Linked DNA regions of Homo sapiens: regions 1, 2, 4, 5 and 6 are each linked to region 3. Evidence: promoter capture Hi-C in 16 types of primary human blood cells and fetal thymus (Javierre and others, 2016). All regions are on one chromosome and are shown on one strand. Each heading gives the region's core, a stretch centred on a gene start or on the middle of the fragment in contact. The rest is flanking DNA. Distances are from core to core; before and after follow the strand shown.

The links. Contacts are between HindIII fragments. The CHiCAGO score rates a contact against its expected background, and 5 or more counts as called.
Region 1: a contact is called between a fragment that was not itself captured here and the fragment with the promoter of SMPDL3A in region 3, in 1 of 17 cell types (monocytes). The highest score is 8.0, in monocytes.
Region 2: a fragment that was not itself captured here is called in contact with the fragment with the promoter of SMPDL3A in region 3 in 2 of 17 cell types (monocytes and M2 macrophages); the score reaches 6.8 in monocytes.
Region 4: a contact is called between a fragment that was not itself captured here and the fragment with the promoter of SMPDL3A in region 3, in 1 of 17 cell types (monocytes). The highest score is 5.8, in monocytes.
Region 5: a fragment that was not itself captured here is called in contact with the fragment with the promoter of SMPDL3A in region 3 in 2 of 17 cell types (M0 macrophages and monocytes); the score reaches 6.6 in M0 macrophages.
Region 6: a contact is called between a fragment that was not itself captured here and the fragment with the promoter of SMPDL3A in region 3, in 1 of 17 cell types (monocytes). The highest score is 5.2, in monocytes.

The regions. Positions count from the first base shown.
Region 1 is chr6:122,391,953-122,395,502 of GRCh38, forward strand. No RefSeq gene overlaps it. Among named protein-coding and RNA genes, the nearest start is that of HSF2, 5.9 kb to the right of the region's middle. RefSeq lists an enhancer at 1,281-1,899. The HindIII fragment of the contact is 4,618 bases long and covers 1-3,550 here.
Region 2 is chr6:122,488,151-122,492,051 of GRCh38, forward strand. It overlaps a transcript of PKIB not described here. Among named protein-coding and RNA genes, the nearest start is that of SERINC1, 18 kb to the left of the region's middle. The HindIII fragment of the contact is 581 bases long and covers 1,935-2,515 here.
Region 3 is chr6:122,787,192-122,790,838 of GRCh38, forward strand. SMPDL3A (sphingomyelin phosphodiesterase acid like 3A) reads left to right here and starts at 2,067. Exons shown (of 8, transcript NM_006714.5): 1 at 2,067-2,267. The coding sequence starts at 2,156. RefSeq lists enhancers at 1,877-2,378, 2,379-2,878 and silencers at 2,093-2,387, 3,493-3,647. The HindIII fragment of the contact is 3,428 bases long and covers 625-3,647 here.
Region 4 is chr6:122,408,424-122,412,407 of GRCh38, forward strand. HSF2 (heat shock transcription factor 2) reads left to right here. Exons shown (of 13, transcript NM_004506.4): 2 at 3,950-3,984. Among named protein-coding and RNA genes, the nearest start is that of HSF2, 11 kb to the left of the region's middle. The HindIII fragment of the contact is 2,345 bases long and covers 1,416-3,760 here.
Region 5 is chr6:122,449,849-122,453,587 of GRCh38, forward strand. SERINC1 (serine incorporator 1) reads right to left here. Exons shown (of 10, transcript NM_020755.4): 6 at 2,040-2,209; 7 at 1,816-1,906. Among named protein-coding and RNA genes, the nearest start is that of SERINC1, 20 kb to the right of the region's middle. The HindIII fragment of the contact is 968 bases long and covers 2,006-2,973 here.
Region 6 is chr6:122,431,933-122,435,977 of GRCh38, forward strand. HSF2 (heat shock transcription factor 2) reads left to right here. Exons shown (of 13, transcript NM_004506.4): 13 at 1-1,187. The coding sequence ends at 288. Among named protein-coding and RNA genes, the nearest start is that of HSF2, 34 kb to the left of the region's middle. The HindIII fragment of the contact is 3,628 bases long and covers 681-4,045 here.

The sequences.
Region 1 (3,550 bases), core at 983-3,482, 400 kb before region 3:
TTATGATATTTCTAAATATTTTAAAACAAAATGTACAAAAACTTTAATTTTCCTATTTTTAACATGTATTTGAAATACATTTTATAAAATATATTCAGATTTGGTTGTTAAATACAGTTGTACTTTGAATACAACTACATTTCAAATACTTTGATCCAATAGAACATAGGTTATGTGACAACCTTGATGGTGACAATCTAACTGAAATATAGGCAAGAAAAAATAATTTTATGGAATAAATATACAATGATCTACAAATTATATATCTCTATTTTATTAATCATCAAAAACATCATTCCTCCATCAACAGAACACCAAACAATAATTACATTTGATCTTCGTGGATCAAAGTTAATTTAAAAATATTTTGCCAACCTAGTGTCTTATGAAAACTATACATACATTGTTTGTTTGTTTGTTTTTTTGTTTTTTGAGACAGGGTCTCACTCTGTTACCCAGCCTGCAGTGCACTGGCGCAATCACAGCTCATTGCAGCCTTAAACTCCTGGGCTCAAGCAATCCTGCCTTAGCCTCCTGGGTAGCTGGAACTACAGGCATGCACCACCATGCCCAGCTGAAAACTATGATTTGACACATATCTTTTAATTTTATTATTATGAAGATATATTTTTCAAGCTAGGAGACTAGAACATATTTTATTTAAGTTTGTTAGCTTGATTTGCAATCTTTAAAACTTCTGAAATATGGCATGTAAGCCTCTATTTTTACTCTTGCTTCAGGCCACCTAAATCCCCTGAACACTGGGTCTATGAGGATCCTAAGGTTAGGGCACCTAGAGAATAGGCTACCAGTTCAAGATAACACCATTCTCAGGTTAGTCAAAAATGGGGAAAGACAATACACTATTTTTAGTCAATACACATATCCTGAACTTCATTAATTTTACCAAGAAAGAAATCATTTCCACATCCATTGCCCTAGTTAACAAAACTTTGGTATTAATTAAAAAAATAAACATTAAGATTAAATCTTCATAGGAAAAGCATTAGATTAGTCTTTCATATGCTAACTAACCACCCCTGGAGAATGCCTTCCTAATTCGGGTTTTTCAACTGTTAACTTGACTGCCCCTAGGGTGCAGATTACAATTAACTACCACACTATATACTCCTCTTTAAATTGTAGTATTTTAAAGTAAATTATAGCAAATATAACAATTACCATATATAAGGGCTTTATAAATCAAGAGTTCTGCCATTAAGTAGCAAATTTTTTTTTTTTTTTGAGTCAGAGTCTTGCTTTGTCATCCAGGCTGGAGTGCAGTGGCGCAGTCTCAGCTCACTGCAAACTCCGCCTCCTGGGTTCAAGCAATTCTCCTGCCTCAGCCTCCGGAGTAGCTGAGAGCACAGGCGTGTCCCACACGCCTGGCTAATTTTTTGTATTTTTAGTAGAGATAAGGTTTCACCGTGTTAGCCAGGACGGTCTTGATCCTGTCCTTGTGATCCGCCCGCCTTGGCCTCCCCAAAGTGTTAGGATTACAGGCATGAGCCACTGCGCCCAACCGCAAATCTTTAAGAGGTCCTAGCAACTACTTGATTCAGACAATGGCAGACTTTTCTCCGAAAGATCAGAATTCATTCAGTTCTATCCTAGGATGCCTTCTCAGAAAGCAGCAGGTTGAGCCTTTGTTTCATCTCTACTGTACTGCACCACGCTGTGAGCACAGAATAGAAAAGTCATCTCTCTTTATGGCTGGTAAGTGGATGCTGCTCATAGTAGATGACTAAACTCTAAAGAGGTTAGAAATGTCCCAGTGGTTACCAGCTCTTCACAGACACCTCTCAGATCATGACACACAGCTGTGACAGTGACTGCCTCCTCACTGAACCCAATTTCTCCAGTTTAGTATTCAAAGCATGAGTGTATTTCTGTATCCAATTCCTATAATTCAGCTCATTTCATCTTTGAGGACCTCAAAGGTCTTAGTTATCAAATGATTTGAATAAAATGATGACTTAAACCACATTTTCCGAAAGATAAACTCCTAACACATTCCATCTATCTTGGACACCACCTCCTCTTGGAACAAGACAAGTCCCAGTGAAGTAGAAACTTAAACCCTAACATGGTTTTGTTCTAGTAGAAATAATGGAAGGCTTATATTGCAGGCCATTTCTCTATTCCACTCCATTTTTCTAATGTTTCCAGTCCTTGACGGTTTTTAGCCTTGAATTTTCTTTCTTATCAACATCTCTCTGTGTGTGTCTGAGCCTTCACGGGGACCTTGAGTTGCAGGGGTACATCAATTCCTTCTATTTATCAGCTAGCTGTTGGAGTGCCTGTGAAAGAGAGCCTCCGCACTGCTTCCAGAAAGGCCAAAGCTGCATTAGAGTTTCCAGATCCCGTATCTACATTGTCGCTATACAATATTTTGCTTTGCTTAAAGAGCCTCTGCTTCCTGTCCAACATAAATAACTGGAAGAGGCTGAGTTAGGGTGATCAAACAATCTGGTTTGCCTGGGGCTGAGGGATTTCCTGGGACATAGGACTTTCAGTATTAAAACTGGAAATGTATTGTGCTAACCTGAACTAGTTTGTCACCCTAGTTGGATGACTGATTGGATTCTAGCAAATCTGGCATAGATTGGAGTTTTAATGTAGAGCAGTTCCAGCCCGAGTCTGGTACAAGCAGTACTAACACATTTCCCATGTAAAAAGCTCCTCTGGCTAGTGTCTTTTGCACCCAGGTTGTAGCCTTAGAAGAAGAAAACTTCTTGAAAAATTTTAAAAATTAACTTTCACAGTCTTCTAGCTCTTCACTTACTCAAAAGCCTATTCAAGAGTCCTTAAGCATTTTGCCACTGTCATTTGTTTTGAAGATATAAGTGACCTCAAACCTGGGCCTCTATAGCATTCTGTTAACATCTGGCATTTCCAGGATTCTAATATTTGTTCAGTTACTAACAGCTCCTCATTCGCATGCTTCTCAGTTGAGCTATCCTTAAGCTCTTCTCTTCATTTTCTTCTCTTGTAAACAAAAAGGTTTCTACTGACTGAGAATAAATTGTAAGGGGTTTCCTTATTATTAGGTAGAGCACATTTTATCCAAAGGATTTCAAAAGCTAAAATTATTAATTCAACAAATATTTATTGAGCAGTTCCTACGTTATTATTAGCACTGTGTTGAGTGCTCAGGATACAAGAGTGAACAATGCAAGCACAATCTGCTAGTCTAGTAAGGGTTGTTGAGAAGTAAATGAGCAGCAATAGTGTGGTAAAAACTATGAAGGTCAAGTTCCAGAGCTATAGGAGCACATGGGAGGAACAACTAACCCAGATTTGGGGGTCATGCAAGAATAAACAGATGATTAGCACTTACCTGTTCATGTATTCATTTATTAATTCAACAAATATTTATTGATATTTTAACATATATCATGCATTGTGAATGTCATTGTAAATAAGTGAATGTACATATGACATAGTATTTATGTTGAAGCAGTTTCATAGTCTAGAATGAAAAATACATGTAAATAAATAATTATAATATGATGTAGTAAGTGCTATAATAAATGTTACCAAGGAAGAT
Region 2 (3,901 bases), core at 975-3,474, 300 kb before region 3:
CATTCTTTCTACATTTAACTTGCATTTGGCTGGAAGTAATAGCTTTTTCTTTCATATATATATATTCATATATATACACACACACACGCATGTATGTACACACACAAACACACACATCTCCTTATAGATTTCTGTTTATTTAATGAGTTTATAGTCTATTGTTATAATTATTTATCTTGTTGCTCTATTTGCTACGTATTTGGCAAACGGGGAAACCCCCCACCTAGAAGCTGAATACTGTCTTTTACTTTTTCCCTTCATATTCTTTTGTTTGAGCTCTTCTTTTCTGGCACAAGATCTTCCAGGGTCTCACTGTGTTGCCCAGGCTGGAGTACAGTGGTACCATCATGGTTCACTGCAGCCACTCCCTCCCTGGACTCGGGTGATTCTCCTGCCTCAGATTCCAGAGTAGTTGGGACAACAGGCACACCATTATGGCCAACTAATTTTTGTATTTTTTTTTTGTAGAAATGGGGTTTTGCCATGTTGCCCAGGCTGTTCTCAAACCAGTTTATATTATTCTTTCATTTCTCCAAGGAGCTCTTGTTCTACGTTAGAGAAGAATGATACTTAGAAACCAACATTGGAGCACTACGTCTGCTCACTGCTCCTGGGATTAATTGCTTCTAGGCTTTCCCACCAGGCAGAGGTAGAAAATGTCTGTCACTCACATACACAAACATTTGTATCTACTTCTGTATCTATCTGTCTATCTCTGTCTATCTAAGAAATTGTGTGTTCCCAGTGATAATTCCAATTGAAACATAATACCACAGGGATCATTCTGGCCATTGGCTTTTCATATTTGTAACTCATTTATCCAATAGTGAGAAACTTGGTTCTCATTATTCTCAATTTATTCACTTATTTGCTTTTTCCTCCTGTATATAATCAAACTCCTGACCCAGAAAGTTGCCTTCTAGGCCCTGCCCACCTCAATAGCCCCAATAGTTTCCTTGGTCCTAAAGTTTCTACTTGTGTTAGCTGCCTCAAAGGACAGGAAGTAAAAAGAATTAATAGATTTTTTTAAAGAAGGGGGAAAAATAAGAGACTTTTAAAAATAGTATTTCATTTATTATTATTATTATTATTATTATTGTTATTATTATTATTTTTGAGAAAAGTCTTGCTTTGTTGCCCAGGCTGGAGTGCAGTGGTACAGTCTCAGCTCACTTCAACCTCTGCCTCCCAGGTTCAATTTATTCTCCTGCCTCAGCCTCCTGAGTAGCTGGGATTACAGGCACCTGCCACCACACCCAGCTAATTTTTGTATTTTTAATAGAAATGGGGTTTTGCCATGCTGGCAAGGCTGGTCTTGAACTCCTCACCTCAAGTGATTCAGCTGCCTCAGCCTCCCAAAGTGCTGTGATTACAGGCATGAGCCTGGCCAAAACAGTAATTTAAAAATGGATTCTCTCCTTTTAAAATACTACTTATCATTGAATGAGTTAGGCTTTCCTGGACTGGCCATTTGTAAGAGGTTTCTTTTGGGATATGAAGGAAAGATAAAGTTTCTGGCTAAGTAATTTTCATAGAGCAAAAGCTTTCTCCTTTCCTGTTACAGAGTCATGTTACTTCTTATAAATATGATTTTTCTGTATAATTCTTTTTATAGCCCCAGGCCTTCTTAAGAAGAAAGACATGACAACTCAATCCATTCAGTCTTTGTACTAACGGTCACAAAAAAGGAATATTACTTTTTGGCTTCACAGTATACCCACACTTTCAGGAAGTATATTTTGCAAGTGCTTTTTGAGATCTATTTTTCAGTGGATCCCTGCTCTTGAGATTTATCACCAGGGATTCTTGTTTTCACTGCCCTTTCTGTGTATACAAAAAAATGTCATGTGCTTTTGATAGTGTTTGATATAAAATGGAGTCTGGGAGTTAAATATGCATCCAAGTTCTTCAAAAATAGTTTGCAAACTTATGAAAGCTTCTTCTTGTAGCTTTTGAATAATTTCCAAGAAAAAGGGAAAATGCTGATTTATAGAGTCATTCAAATTGTGTCTAAGTCCTCCAAAAATGTTTTTCAAACTTATAAAAGCATCTTCTTGTAGCTTTTGAATAATTTCCAGGAGAAAGAAAAGGTGCTGCTTTATATAGTTATGTTTGTAGTTGTCACATGTTGGCTTCTTCAGGAAGGAGGCTCTGAGATGAAGTTTAGCGTGAGGATGTTTATTAAAGTGTGCCCTTACCAAAGAGATCAATACAACTGGCAGGGAGGGAAAGAAAACAGTAGTAGTATTATGGTTTGGATGTTTACCTCTTCCAAATCTTATGTTGAAATATGATTCCAAATGTTGGAGGTGGGGACTGGCGGGAGGTGATTGGATCATGGAGAAAGGTCCCTCATGAGTGGTTTAGCACCATCCTCTCGGTGATGAGTGAGTTTCCTTTCAGTTCACACAGAGATCTGGTTGTTTTGAATCTGGGACCTCTCCCTTCTCTCTTTCTTGCTCTCATTCTCATCATGTGGCATATTGGCTACCCTTTGTCTTCCACCATGAGTGTAAGCTTCCTGAGTGCCTCAGCAGAAGATGACAGCACTATGTTTCGTGTACAGCCTGCAGAACCATAAGCCAATTCAACCTCTTTTATTTATAAATTCCTCAGTCTCAGCTATTTCTTTATAGCTAGCAAAAATTGCCTAATACAAGTAGGCAGAGGAAGAAGTTGTGCTGTGATACAGCCCAGCTTTAGCCTCAGCTGAATCCATAGGGAAGCTCTAGAACTAGAATGACCCTTTAGAGTTGCCTGAATGGGGCTAAGATCACCCATCAGTGATTATGTTAGTGGCAGTGAATCTATACTGGTCTCCAGCAACCTCAGTTCCTGCCTCCTCAGAAGAAAAAATTTGAGGGGCATAAAGGAGAAGAAGAGACTGAGACAAGTTTTAGAGCAGGAGTGAAAGTTTATTAAAAAGCTTTACAGCGGGAAGAAAAGTACACTAGGAAGAGGCCCAAGCAGGCCACTTGAAGGACAAGTGTGGGGTTTGACCTTTTGACTTGGGGTTTTATATCTTGACATACTTCCATGGTCTTGCATCCCTTATCTCTTTATTCTGCACTTGGAGCTGCCTGTTCTCATGCACAGTGTGTTACTGGAGTTATACGCATGCTCACTTGAGGCATTCTTCTCTTTACCAGTGGAATGCTTCTGGAAGGTCATATACCAGTTAAACTCCACCATTTTGCCTCTTAATGTGCATGCTTGAGCTCACTCACCCAATTCCTGAGATCTTTTTGGGAATCATCTATTATTATTTTAGAGAGGCAGTGTGACAACTGCCTGACCATCACCTGATGGTCACCTGACATTCCTGTTGGAGTTGGGGGAGCCCTCTCCTCCCCCGCTCATGCCTGGCTAGCTACCTACTGTAAAAATTAGTCATTAACGTAGGCCTCTAGAAGGGACGTGTGGCCTTGGGCAAACCAAGTCTTCCTGAAGAAGTGAACAGCTGAAAGATGTCTGCAGATAGCACTCCTCACTACTGGTGCAACAAGTCATTTCTTGAAAATAGGTTGTGGAAGCACATTTCAGTGTCCTGGTGCATAGCCTTTGAATACACACTCCTCTGAGTTATAGTTTTGATCTGATTTCATAGCCATTTATGACTCAAAAATATCAAGAATCACTGCATTATTGGGAACATTCATTATTTCTGTACCTTGTTTTTATCTAGAAAACTAAGGTTAATCTAGAAAGATTTGAGCTGAATTTCTAAAGCTACTCGGTAAAAATAAATATGTTGTTTTTACAGTCAGCAAATTTTCTTTAGTTATATGTTAGAATTATGAGTACTGAAAGCCCTTTGTAATTCCACTACATTACTAAAAGCTAAGACTCACCAACTGTGGATTAGTTACGCAGATATTTCAAAAACACTTGGAGGTTTTAT
Region 3 (3,647 bases), core at 817-3,316:
AGGATGGGCCAGTGACACAGCCTCAGGAGGTCTTGACATGTGCCCAAGGTGGTCAGGATACAGCTTGCTTTTATACATTTTAGGGAGACATGATACAGCAATCAATACATGTAAGATTTTTACATTGGTTCGATCTAGACGGGCAGGACAACTTGAAGCTGGGCGGGGGGTGGGTGTTTCCAGATCACAGGAAGATTTAAACATGTCCTGATTGGCAATTGGTTGATTGAAAAAGTTATTATCAATAGAAAGGATGTCTGGGTTATGATAAGGGGTTGTTAGACCCAGATTTTGTCACACAGACGAAGCCTCCACGTAGCAGGCTTTAGAGAAAACAGATCTTAAATGTTTCTTATCAGACTTATGGTCTATGTTGATGTTAATTACGCATGTCCAACCCCCCCATCCCCTTTTTCATGGCCTGAACCAGTCTTTCAGGTTAAATTTTAGAGTGCCCTGACTGGGGAAAGAGTCCATACAGATGGTCGTCCATTCAGATGGTTGTGGGGGGCCTTCAAATTTTATTTTTGGTTTACAAAACAGAAAATGGAAGCACCTTGCTTCCCACTTCAAAGCCCGTTTCATGACACACACTCCCATTAAATTACATGGGATACAAAACAAAGCTTTCTATGCTGGGAAAGAAATACACTCTACAACATCTTTTTTGAGGTTAGTAATTATGGAAAGCATTTTCTTCTGCAAAGGAATTCCACGCCCTATAAATTTAAATTATTAGCTTGTCATCTCCAAGAGATCAGCATCCTCATAAACGGTGAGAGAAGGAACACAGAATACAGGATCCAGCACAGTTTCGGGATTCTGGCTTCTTTGCCAGACTTATCTTTGCTTACTTCTTTGTATAGACTTACTTCTTTGCCAGACTTATCTTTGCTTACTTCTTTGTATAGACTTACTTCTTTGCCAGAAGTATATTCAAAAAAGTTCCGTGGAAGCATCAAATCAACCACCTCTACTTATGATTTCCATGCATCTCTGGAATGCATAAAGCATGATTTCAGAACATGTTCTAATTCTAAGACCCTTCTCTTCCCGGCAGTTTAAAAAAAACAAAAAACAAAACGTCGTATCTTTGAGCATTGGTTTTCAAACATCACAATCACTTTAACATGACCTGAAATGCTTGTGAAAACACAAACTGCTGGGCTCCAGCAGGTTTCTGACTCAACAGGTCTAGGGTGGTGCCTGGGAATTTGCATTTCTAACTAGAGTTCCCAGGTGGTGCTAATGTTCCCAGTTCAGAGACTTCAATTCGAGATCCACTGCAGTATCCATAACTTTTGCTGATTTCCTTCAAATCATGATACTTCAGGGCTCTCTGCATCACCTCTACTGAGGAGCCCTACCCATTAAAGCTGGGGTAGGTTGGCCCAAGAATGGAACCGGGATCGTTGAGATTTCAGCACCCCAGCATTTTTTAGTGACTGAAATAATGAAAATTCTGATCAGGCTCCTGCTTGCTTGCACATTTTAACCACTCGCTTTTTGCCCAATATTCTCCTTGTTTCCACAATATAATTATAAACTGCTGAGGTACTGCTTCCTCGTCAAGAACAAAGAGGTTAACTTCAGGGTCACAAAAATGTTTGCAGAAGGGATGAATACCTCCAAGGGCTTTGCAACCAGCTGCGGATGCCTGGACGTCTAATTGCTCAAAGGTGTTATCTGAGACTGAAGAAACAGACTTTTCCCCTGGATTCTTTGAAAATCCCCCTCTCTTATTCTCTAGCAGAATAAAAACTCCCTGCTTTTTCCTTTTTACACACGGATTTGAGAGATCTTGTTCTCCCTCCTTCTGGCTTTTACTAAATTGAATGTCTTTCTCTATCCCCAAGCACCAGTATGTCAGTGTTTGACATCAACTGCACCACTGATACACGAGTCGGAATTTGAGCTTCTACAAGTACATTCCTTCCTAGGCCAAACACTGACGCTAAGAAATACGAGAACAGATCATCGCTAAACAGCAGCTGAAGGTCAGGCGAACTGACTCGCTGCGGAATCTGCCTTTGCACGTGATCAGTCGGACGTCTACACCCGCAGCCGTCTTCTGTCTCCGCCTCACCCTCAGGCCTGACGGTCCGAGTGGAGCTGCGGGACAGCCCGAACCTCCAGGTCAGCCCCGCGGCCCTCCATGGCGCTGGTGCGCGCACTCGTCTGCTGCCTGCTGACTGCCTGGCACTGCCGCTCCGGCCTCGGGCTGCCCGTGGCGCCCGCAGGCGGCAGGAATCCTCCTCCGGCGATAGGTGAGTTGTCCGCGACCCTTCTCTTCCCAGCCGGCAAAGAGCGCGGAGCGGCGGCGCCTGCGCACAGCAGGAGAAAGTGCGTGGGGGCAGCTGCCCCCGGCAGAGGCTCGGGCTAGCGGGGCCCCTGACGCGTCCGGCGTTGACCACGGCTGGTGGGCGCGGGGAGGGCGACCAAGGGACTACAGCGTTAGGGCGTCCAGCCGGGAGGCCGGGGCTGGGCGGGGGAAATGCCCTCGCCGGTGGGGGCGCTCCAAGGGCGCGTCGGCCGGATTTCGCCAGCCTGGCTTTTGTTTACATCCTGCATCTCAGTTGTTTTGTTCCTTGGGGAAGGAAGGAAAAGCTGCGGGACTCAAGGGAAGAGGAAGCTGGGAGTCCGATGTCCAGCACAGCAAGAGGCCCCTAATCGGTCCTGAATGGAGGGGGACTGCAGTTTCCCCACCAGCTCAGGGAAGTAAATTTCAGCGTGACTCACACTATCTTCTGTCTTGCTCGACCGAGATCAGTGGCTTTTTCTGCCACTCACCCAGCCAGAGCGCGAAAGCACCCTCGGGTAGACTCACCCCTTAGTCTACCGTGGAACTCACGGGGACTTCATTTCACCTGGATGTCCACTAGGTTTCCTGCGGGCGGGACCCATTTTATTCACTCCCAGCACTTAACACAGTGCCCGTTACAGTAGTGATTCTCTTAAGTGTGCCCTGGACCGGTGGCAGCAGCCGCCGCACTTAAAATTGTTAGCATTGCAAATTTCCAGCCCATCCCAGACCTACTGAATCTGAAACGCCGGCGTTGGGCTTCCACAGTATGCTGTTTAACCCACCCTCCGCATGATTCCTTTCGGCTAAGTTTGAGACTCACTGGTCCAGAATAGATACATTTTGGTGGGAGATTGTACAATGCCATCCGAGCCTCCAGTTCCAAAAATCAAGGTGCCCTCACCTCCTCAACTCCCTTTAAAAATAATTGCACTGTTAAGAGGAAAAACAAAATTAGAGAAGTGGGGTTCTGTTTTCTTTTAGGGGAGAGTTGTCCCTGAGACTCGGTAGCAGCACCTAGTGCTGAAACCTCTTTCGCTCCCTCTGTGCTTTCTCAGGACTTGGGAGCGCTCTAGGGCAAATATCTTCTCTTTGAAGGCCAAGTCCTCACGACTCAGCTGTCAGGTCTGAAGCAAAAACTGTAAATCTGGTTTCCGAACTGTGGCAAATGTCAGTCATTACAAGAAATTTCCCCAAAATGTTTATGTATACTGGTTTCTGCTTTTATTACGGCTTAGCTTGTGTTCCTTTAATTATGTGACCGGTTAGGGTTTTGAAATAAAATGTCTCACGTTGCTTGAGGCCACACAATGGCAAATTCACCTGTGTTTTAAAGAGGCCTGAA
Region 4 (3,984 bases), core at 1,338-3,837, 380 kb before region 3:
GTATTCTCATGACAAGGCATATTTCTAAATTCATTTTGTTGATTTATGTTTGCTATTAGGCCTTGTGGATCTTTGTTCATTTTCTTCCTGGATATCTTATATATGTTGTAAATGGTGTTCTTGACTTAAAAATAGATTTCTAGCTGTTGCTGGTAATTAGAAATACAAGTAATTTTTGTATATTGATAATAAATCAGTGAGCAAATCATTTTACTGATTTCAGTTTTCTGAGTACACCCATAGTATCTGTGATTGACATTTATTTTCTTCCTTTCAGACCTTTATGCCTTCCGTTTTTCTTTTGGCAGTAACTAAGAGTGAGTAGAAGCAATTATCATGGCATTCTGGCTTTGTTCTTAATTTTTAAAGGGAATGTTTTAATGTTTCCCCCTTACTAGCTGTTAGAATGAGAGTTTTTAACTTCATTTTTTTTTTTTTTTTGACATCAAATGTTGTCGGGTGACTTAGTGAGGAAGGGACTTGGTAGAATGGAAGACACAAGAAAAGATTGACTTCCGGGGAAACAGGAAATGGGTTTAGAACATACTGAGTTAAAGAACATAGTGTAAAAAATGTTAACATTTTAAATTGAAGTGTGTAATTTGAGATGATCAGGGACAGAGCTGTAGATGTGTTTATTATAAAATAAAGTCAATAATAAGATACCCTACTGTGGATGAATTCTAAGGAAAGAATATGAATGGTGCCACGATTAAGGATAAAAACCTGGAAAATACAGCTACCTCTTATTTGATAGGTGGAAGAAAATTGAAAGGAAATATAAGAGATAAGAGACTCAACAGTGTTTAGCATCAAAGCCCAGAGAGTCGAACATTTAAGGAGGAGATTGTTAGTTGTACCAAATGAAATGCCACAGAGAGGTGTAGGAAGATCAGGACTGAAAAGAGGGCATTGAATTTGATATTTGACATTTTAGAAATCTGGTTTCAGTCGAGTGAGGGAACCAAAAGCAGTTTTCAGTGAGAGTAAGTGGATGGTCCTGAATTGGAGAAGGGGGGTTTAAAATACCTGCTTGTTAAATTTTGCAGTTAAGGAAAAGACAGATGGGTAGATTGAAAAAGAAGGTATAAGAGGGAAAGTTCTTTTAAGATAGGAAAAGACGTATGCATTTTAAGCATTTTAATTTTGATAATTACCTAGTTGCCAATACTGGTTATTGTCAAGGGTTGTAAATTTAATCTAATAAGGGAAAATCATTATTTGTTTTGCTCTACATTCTTCATTTATGAGTCTGGGTCTCTTCTAAATTTCACAATGTGTTTTTCATCAAAATTGTGTTTCTGTTAGGAAGAAAGTAGAGGAGAGTAGAGATAGAGTAGGAAGCTAGCAGTCTCCATGGATAAATTTATATTTTATCTATATGTCTTCTGGGTTTATTATGTCATGTCTCCAAAAGCTTGCTTGTAAAGAGTAAGATGACATCGAGCTCTTATTTTTCTTCCCAAATGGAAAATTTCTTAATCCTTTTCTTTCCTGATTATCCCCCCATTTGAATGCCATCTTGACTTACTACCTGGTAAATTCTCAGATAGATTTGCTGGTTCATCTGTCCTCTCTAGTCAGTCCATTCATCTATGTAATCACTTCTTCTTTTGTACTAAATTGTTAACACTATAATTTTATAATCTGTATTGGGTAGGGTTAAAATACTCCTCCCCATTGTTCTCAATATTTTCTTTCCTGTTGTTATGTAATTATTTTTACAAATGAACTTATGTACCTAACATTTGGTTATGATAGCATCAATTCATCTTTACTCCACAAATCATTTTTTTAATTAAGACAGAATTTAATGTATTGGTTAATTTAGAGAGAATTGACACCTTTACAATACTGCATTTGTCTTCCTTTTGTATTTCTATAGTTTTAATATTTTTAAAGTTCCTGTATATTTTTAAATTTTATTTTTAGATACTTAACATTTTTCTATTATTATTGGGATATTTTATTCCATTTTAGTTTCTAATTTTTTTAATTGTGGTAAAATATACATAACATAAAATTAACCATTTTAAGTGCATTAAGTTAGATTCACATTGTTAGGCAACCATTACCACCATCCATCTCCAGAACAATTTTTATCTTTCCACACTGAAACTTTATACCCATTTCACAATAACTTCTAACTCCTTCCTCCCCGCAGCCCCTGACAACCACCATTCTACTTTTTGTCTCTGAAATTGGCTATTATGGAAACTTCATATAAGGGGAATTGTACAGTATTTGTTCTTTTGTGACTGGCTTATTTCACAGCATAATGTTTTCAAAGTTCTTTTCATGTTGTAGCTTGTGAGAATTTCCTTTTTTAGGTGAAATAATATTTCATTGCATGTATATACCATACTTTATCCATATATATTTCACCATGTGTTGGTGGATACTGAAGTTACTTCTACCTTTTGCCTGTTGTGAAAAATGCTACTGTGAACATGGGGTACAAATATCTGTTCAAGTCGTTGCTTTTATGGTTTTTTTTGTTTTGTTTTTTTGTTGTTGTTTTTGGGTTTTTTTTTTTTTTTTGAGTATATACCTAGGAATGGAATTGCTGGATTATATGTTCTTTGTTTAATTTTTAAAGGAACTATCATAGTGTTTTCCACAGCAACCACACTATTTTAACATTCCCACCAATAATGCACCAATATTCCAATTTCTCCACTTCCTTGTGAACACTTGTTTTATGCGTTTTTGATAATAGCCATTCTAATGGGTGTGCAGTGGTATATTGTTTTAGTTTTGATTTTCATTTCCCTAATGATTTGTGTTACTGACCATCTTTTTATTTGCTTATTGGAAGTTTGTATATCTTCTTTGAAGAAATATCTACTCACATCCTTGCTCGTTTTTTATCGGGTTGTTTGGGTTTTTTTTGTCTTTTGTTCTTTTTGAATTTTAAGAGTTATGTCTATGTTCTGGATATTAACTCCTGAGGTATATGATTTGCACTTTCTTCTTTCCATTCTGAGGGTTGCCTTTTCAGTCTGTTGGTAGTCTTTAGATTTGATGTAGTTCCATTTGTCTATTTTTGCTTTTGTTGCCTGTACTTTTAGTGTTACATTTAATAAATCATTGCCAAGTCTAATGTCATGCTCTACTATTGTTAAAAGTTTCTTTAGCTCTTGTGTTTAGGTCTTTGATTGATTTGAAGTTAGTTTTTATATATGTTATCAGATAAGGGTCTAACTTCATTTTTTTGTATGTAGATATCCAGTTTTCCCAGCACCATTTGTTGAAAAGACTGTCCTTTTTTTATTGAATGGTCTTGACACTGTTGTCAAAAATCCTTTGGCAGGGTTTATTTCTGGGCTGTCTATTTTATTTCATTGATCTATATGTTTGTCAGTATGCCAGTACCATGCTACTTTGATTACTTTATTTTTGTAGTGTTTCCAGGTGTTTGTTTTTTGTAGAGAAAAACACTAGTGACTTTTAATATTAATTTAGTAACCACGTATCTTACTGAATTCTTAAAGGGTTTTTAAATTGATTTTACAAAGATACAATTATGTCTACTATGTCTACTGCAAATAATTATAAAATGGTACTTCCTCTCAAAATCTTTTTTTTTTATTTTGGTCTTAATTGCACTAGTTTTAAAACAATGTTAATTATGCTGTCTACATAATTGTATTTCATTTTCTCATTGCTGGTTTAATGGAAGTTCTAATATTTCACCATAGAGTGTGATGTGGCATTTGGTTTGAGATATGTTCCTAAACTTTTGAGGTTGACATCAAAAAGCTTAGTTGCAATTTGTTGCTTAATTGCAATTTTGTTTCTTGTTCCTGTTGTCAAGAATAGAATGTTGGTCTGAAGACATCAAGGAGGGACTGGACTACTCAAGACAGTTGTGGGATGTATAAATATATCACCATGTGTCATAGGAACTTAACTAATTTACTTTTTCTTTTTTTTTTTCCCCTTGCAGAATGGCCAAAGTTTTCTGGTCTTGGATGAGCAACG
Region 5 (3,739 bases), core at 1,240-3,739, 340 kb before region 3:
TCTACTAAAAATACAAAATTAGCTGGGTGTGGTGGCGCAGGCCTGTAATCCCAGCTATTCAGGAGGCTGAGGCAGGAGAATGGCTTACCAAGGAGACAGAAGTTGCAGTGAACGGGGATTGTGCCATTGCACTCCAGCCTGTGCAACAAGAGTGAAACTCCATCTCAAAAAAATAAAAATAAGAAAAAAGAAAGCAGCCAAACCAAACAACAGATTTTCAATAAAGACAACATAGACTTCTATTGTAAGAAGATATAATCTAGGACTTTCATAGCTATAGAGAAGTCAGTCAATGCCTGGCTTCAAAGCTTAAAAGGACAGGCTGATTCTCTTGTTAGGGACTAATGCAGACAATGATTTTAAGAGAAAGCCAATGTTCTTTACCATTCCAAAAATCCTAGGGCCCTTAAGAATTATATTAAGTCTATTCAGCCTCTCTATGAATAGAAAAAAGCCTAGATGACAGCACATCTGTTGAAAGTATGGGTTACGGAATATTTTAAGCCCATTGTTGGGACTTACTGCTAAAAGATCCTTTCAAAATATTACTACTCAATGACGATGCACCTGGGTCACCCAAAAGCTCTGATAGAGATGTACAGGGAGATTAATATTTTCATGTCTGCTAACACAGTATTTATTCTGCAGCCCATGGAAAAAGGAGTAATTTCAACGTTTAAATCTTATTATTTAAGAAATATATTTTGTAAGGCTATAGCTGCCATAGAGTAATTCCTCTGATAGATCTGGGTGGACAAAGTAAACTGAAAACCTTCTGGAAAAGATTCACCATTCTAGATGCTATTAAGAACATTCATGATTCATGGGAAAAAATGTCAAAATATCAACATTAACAGGAGTTTGAAAGAAGTTGATTCTAACCCTCATAGATGACTGAGGATTTCAAGACTTTAGTGGAGGAAGTAGCTACAGATACGGTGGAAAGAGCAAGAGAACTAAAAAGTGGAACCTGAAGATGTGACTGAATTGCTGCAATTTCATTATCAAGCCTGAATGATGAGGTGTTGCTTCTTATGGATGAACAAAGTAGTTTTTTGAGATGGAATTTACTCCTGATGAAGATGCTATGAATATTATTGAAATGACAGCAAAGGAGTTAGAATATTACATAAACTTACTTAATGAACCAGGAGCAGGTTTAAGAGGATTGACTCCAATTTGGAAGGAAATTCTACTCTGGGTCAAATGCTATCAAACAGCATCATATGCTACAGAGAAATATTTTGTGAAAGGAGGAGTCAATCAATGGGCAAACTTCATTGTGGTCTTAGTTTAAAGATACTAAAACAGCCATGCCAACCTGCAGCAACCAACACCCTGTTCGGTCAGCAGCCGTCAACATTGAGGCAAGACCTCCTACCAGCAAAAAGATTACAACTTGATGAAGGCTCAGATGACTGTTAGCATTTTTTGGAAATAAAGTACTTTCAAATTAAGGAATGTACATTGTTTTTCTAGACATAATGCTATGGCACACAACAGACTAGTGTAAGATAAACAAAAGTTTTATATGCACTGGGAAACCAAAAAATCATGCTTTACTGTGATGCTTGTTTCATTGTGGTGCTCTGAAACTGAACTCACAGTTTCTCTTAGGTATACATGTAACCTTCTTATAATTTTGTTAGTGATGGAAGAAACTAAGTGAAATAAATAATACATCAAAGATCAAAACTTTGTACTTTATTCCTCTAGAAGCCTAATTTTTAAGTAATTTAATCTCACAAAAAGACAATTTCTGGAAAAACAACAACTGCAGAACCTTTAGGAACATGTAATATAAATAAAACACACCTGGTTCATTGGTCATAGCTGACCATGTCAAATACATTGTGTAGACTGTAATTACTGAAGACTGTAACAAACCAGATCTTGGTTGTGATTCCTACAAAAAAAAAAAAAAAAAAATATATATATATATATATAGCAACACAGGTAAATAGTCTGACATCATTCTAGATTTTTGAAAACTTAAAAAGGTATAAGCTTCATAAAAACTAATGCTTTAAAGGGCATACTTGGATTTTTGGCAGTATAGACATTACAGAAGCACCAACGCAGAGGAGCATGTTGACACTGATGAACGCCTTGTTTTCTGAACAACTGGCTGGATGAGTGTAGTAGACAAAGAACAGGACGATAGCAACTAAAGACAGCAGATAATTCAGAGCTGTAGCTGATAACAAGGCTGTGAAAGAAATATAATTGGATAATTAGCTTTTTATCAGAAATTATTAGCAATTAGAAATGGGACCTGTTTTATAAACAATCTGTCATTTTGTCAAAAAATATATTTTAAGCAACTAACATTGTCAGCATTATAAAGGCTATAAAAGCAGGAAAGAAAATTAATTCTGACCTTTATTGCTGAAGAATTCTAGTTTTTACACATAGCTATTATGTATTTGCAAGGATGGCAAGTTAGTAAGAAACTAATAGGATTTAATACTAATATCTATATTAGAGTTTACAAACTATGTTTACATGTTAGCCATTATTTTCAAAATAAAGAAAAATAACTATAAGAGGAATATTACTTAAGGTTTTTAAAGAACCATTATCACTCAGTTGTAAACAAGGGCATTAAGAAAATTATTTTCATTATTAATGTTAAGCCCTCACAACAATGATGCTTTTCCTCATGAACTAAAATCTTAAAAGATACATATTATGCAAGGGTAAGTCATTATTTAATAAGTCAACCTATGCTTTTTCTATGTAAATTTCAACATACACAAGTTGTTTAGCCTTTATGCTAATATGTGCCTAATATACAAGTATTTATGTAGATTTGCCTCGCTGACAGGGGATCCATCCAACAAATATTTATTGAATGCCTGCATTCCAGGCCCTGGGGATACAGCAGGGAACAAAAGACACAGAAACCCTTGCATTAGACTTTGCATTTAGAGAACAAGGTATTCAATGTAAGTGAAATTTCCAAATGACTAAAGCTTATTTCTTTGAGCACCAAATTATTTTAACTTGAACCACTGAGATAAAACACCACAAATTAGTTGTGTGAGAGGAATATTAGGCCAGCAGACACACTGGATTTGGCTTGCACTCCAATTTAAAATTTTTTTAGCTGAAACTCAGTCATTTAGCATGAAAATCCAGATTTATGACTTCTTTTGAAAAACATTAGAAAAATCAAGCAATACTAAGTTCACATTCCCACAAGGCAACTAATAAATGGAGCTGAGCAGTAGTAATGCACTTTAGATGGGGCATTCATACTCTCCAATTCATTGTAGTCTATTTGCACAAAGCTTATGCACTTAAACTCTGTCCTCCTGTTCCCTCATTTTTGTTACCTGGTTTGGCCCTGTAAGCATTTGAATTGGGATATCTGTTTTCAAGTATAACCCCAAAGGACTCAACATCATCATTATAAATAATCATTAATTACATTACTATAGGAATTCCTTTAGTTGTTATTGATGCACATAAAAGCATCCTTTGCACTTGAATAAAACATCCGAGTTGCTTTTTATATTTTTTATTTGCTGCTGTTTATGAATTGTATCACTGTGTGTTTATCTATTCCTAGCAATCCTCTTCCCTTTAATATTTTGCTTTTAACCCATTGTAGGCTAGAAAATTAGGCTATAAAGTGCACATGCTTTCAGTAATATGCTTTGGAACATTTATTTTAGCTATTCAGGTTCTTTTGGATTCTTTCCTGGTTCTTGGGTTATGTTCCCAGTTAATCTGC
Region 6 (4,045 bases), core at 1,245-3,744, 350 kb before region 3:
CTTATCCAGTATACCGCCTTTCCACTTCTTGCATTCCTCGATGGGAACCCTGCTTCTTCTGTTGAACAGGCGAGTACAACAGCATCATCAGAAGTTTTGTCCTCTGTAGATAAACCCATAGAAGTTGATGAGCTTCTGGATAGCAGCCTAGACCCAGAACCAACCCAAAGTAAGCTTGTTCGCCTGGAGCCATTGACTGAAGCTGAAGCTAGTGAAGCTACACTGTTTTATTTATGTGAACTTGCTCCTGCACCTCTGGATAGTGATATGCCACTTTTAGATAGCTAAATCCCCAGGAAGTGGACTTTACATGTATATATTCATCAAAATGATGAACTATTTATTTTAAAGTATCATTTGGTACTTTTTTTGTAAATTGCTTTGTTTTGTTTAATCAGATACTGTGGAATAAAAGCACCTTTTGCTTTTCTCACTAACCACACACTCTTGCAGAGCTTTCAGGTGTTACTCAGCTGCATAGTTACGCAGATGTAATGCACATTATTGGCGTATCTTTAAGTTGGATTCAAATGGCCATTTTTCTCCAATTTTGGTAAATTGGATATCTTTTTTTTACAAATACGACCATTAACCTCAGTTAAATTTTTGTTTGTTTTCCTGTTTGATGCTGTCTATTTGCATTGAGTGTAAGTCATTTGAACTAATGGTATAACTCCTAAAGCTTTCTCTGCTCCAGTTATTTTTATTAAATATTTTTCACTTGGCTTATTTTTAAAACTGGGAACATAAAGTGCCTGTATCTTGTAAAACTTCATTTGTTTCTTTTGGTTCAGAGAAGTTCATTTATGTTCAAAGACGTTTATTCATGTTCAACAGGAAAGACAAAGTGTACGTGAATGCTCGCTGTCTGATAGGGTTCCAGCTCCATATATATAGAAAGATCGGGGGTGGGATGGGATGGAGTGAGCCCCATCCAGTTAGTTGGACTAGTTTTAAATAAAGGTTTTCCGGTTTGTGTTTTTTTGAACCATACTGTTTAGTAAAATAAATACAATGAATGTTGAGTACTAGTGTCTGTTATGTGTCTTCTTTAGAGGTGACACTCACATGAAACAATTTTTTCTTCTCATAGGAAGCAGTAGCTTTAAACTGTCTGTGGTTCATTATTCTCAATATGAATCATACCAAGATATTTGTGCCTCATCTCGAAAATATATTGTATATTGCAACAAGGGAGAAATATAATCTCTAAATTTAATGTATTTTAAAGTTCTTTGTTTAAAAATTATACTGGGTTGCTTTCTATGTTTCTAATAAAAAAGTGAGAGAATTATGCCTCTCATTGTCCCAAATAGTGTAAGAATATTATCACTGGATGTCTGGAGAGAAGATAAGAGAAATAGTCAAATCACCTCTTTCCTTTGAAACAGTTGCCCAAGAGAATTATGGAGACTTAATGCAAGGCCAGGGCACTTTATCATGTGAAGAATTTCACCTTTGGGCAAAGGGCTGAAAGCAGTACAATTAATATTGTATAGGGCTATTTAATGAGTTTCAAGGCAGGTTTTCCTATTGGCCATATTCTGTCAGTGTCTTAGAATTTCTTTTATTATGATGTAAAGATTCAAAGTAAGGGCTAGCACAGAAGAATAGGAAAATTCCCTTAGGAGAGTTTTAGTTAGATCCTAAAATACTTGGCTCTGATGGTGGGATCTTGGTGAATTAATTCAAGACCCTACAACAGTGCTCTGCGTGAGCTGAAGAGGTTATGTTTCTAAGGGTGATAAGAGTTTAGAAACTGAGAGGAGAAAACCTTAAAAGACTTTTCTTCATTCCTTTCTCATTGTGAAATACAGTCAAGTTTCTTCTTCTTGGGGGCATTTTGGAACTCTAGAAGCACTTAAAAAATAATTTTGAAAAACTTGATTATGACCCTGGTACTTTTAAAGTTGACATTTAAGATTTTTCATCTTAAGTTTAAATAGTTGGAAGGAATTTAGGATATAGTTAATATTGCTGTTTTAAAACATAATTGTTATATGTTTCTTTAACATTTACCTAAAGGAATTTGAATGCCATAGTGATTTGATCTCTATCATCCACTCTACTTCCTCCAAACAATTTTTTTTTTGAGACAGACTTTCACTCTGTCGCCCAGGGTAGAGAGCAGTGGCGTGATCTCGGCTCACTGCAACCTCCGCCTCCCAGATTCAAGCGATTCTCTTGCCTCAGCCTCTTGAGTAGCTGGGACTACAGTCATGTGCCAACACACCTGGCTAATTTTTTATTTTTAGTAGAGATGGGGTTTCACCATGTTGGCCAGGCCGGTCTTGAACTCCTGACCTCAGGTGATCTGCCTGCCTCGGCCTCCCAAAGTGCCGGGATTACACGCATGAGCCACCGTGCCCGGCTTCCTCCAAAGAATTTTATCCTGCTTTTTTATGTTTGAAAGTTAGACAATGATGATCTTTCGTGACACCTCTTTACATCTAAATTTGAGATTGTTTCCCATAACTGTAAGATTCTAGGCATTAAAAAACTTTCCCTCCAATTTTATACTGTATAACTACACAGTGGATTAAAACCATATAAATATATATGGTAGAGACTTAACTGATTGCCAGACCGTTTCCTTTTCCTATCATGTGGCTAGATTATTTCCACCACTGCAGATGGGGTAGCCATGTAACTGAGTTTTAATCAGTAAAACAGGAGAAGTGATGTGTAGCACTTCCAGTTCTGGTGGTGTAACTTCCCCCATGCATTCCTCCCATGCCATTTACCCCTCCACTGGCTTGATGCAGAGTTGTATGTAGCTTTCAAATATACAATCAAGAAGGAAAAAAATGGCTTCTTGAATTACTGCTTAGAGGAAGGCCACCTATCAGTCCTGGATAACCATTTTACACTTCAGGTGAGGGGAAACAAACCTTTTTTCTACCTGAGTTTTTGGGGGTTGATCTGTTATAGCTTGTAATGTTTACTACAATTAGAGTCTAATTTTGATGATCTGTTAAACAAAAAGTTTTACCAAAAATATATCTTATAGTGGAATAAACAGCTCTTCCTGAGTTTTCATAATAAAAGTTAGTACCAATTTTATTCCTATTTTTGTTTTCACTGATGTTAAAATCCTGAGAATCTTTGTTTATAGTACAAAATGACAAGTAGATGAAAAAGCAGTTTTGTATAGTACTGTTAATTTTTTAATACCTTTAGAATTATGTACCAGAATTCTATCAATTGATGACTCAGTTGGATCATCTTTCAATTTTGTTGAAAGCAAAATATTAGAAACCAGCTAAATCACAAAAAAAAGTTTTTTTTAACTCAGTGTCATCTCTTTCTCACCAATATTTTTAAATGTCCCTTTACCAATTGTCTGGAGATTTTTTTCCAAAGTGCATTGGTAAGATTCAGAATGGATAAGAGATATATCTTTGTTTTGTCAAGTATGAAAAGAATAATTTTTGTTCTGTTTTGTTTGAGATAGAGTTTTGCTCTGTTGCCCAGACAGGGATTACAATGGCGCAATCTCAGCTCACTGCAACTTCTGCCTCCCGGGTTCAAGCGATTCTCCTGCCTCAGCCTCTGGAGTAGCTGGGATTACATGCGTGCACCACTACGCCTGGCTAATTTTTTGTATTTTTAGTAGAGACGGGGTTTCACCATGTTGGCCAGGCTGGTCTCAAACTCCTGACCTCAGGTGATCTGCCCTCCTCGGCCTCCCAAAGTGCGGGGATTACAAGCATGAGCCACCGCACCTGGCCAGAATAATTGTTAAAAAGGATGATGCCGGCCGGGTGCAGTGGCTGACGCCTGTAATCCCAGCACTTTGGGAGACCGAGGTGGGTGGATCACGAGGTCAGGAGATCAAGACCATCCTGGCTAACACGGTGAAACCCCGTCTCTACTAAAAAATACAAAAAATAGCCGGGCATGGTGGCGAGCGCCTGTAGTCCCAGCTACTCCAGAGGCTGAGGCAGGAGAATGGCGTGAACCCGGGAGACGGAGCTTGCTTGCAGTGAGCTGAGATCGCGCCACTGCACTCCAGCCTGGGTGACAGAGCCAGACTCTGTCTCAA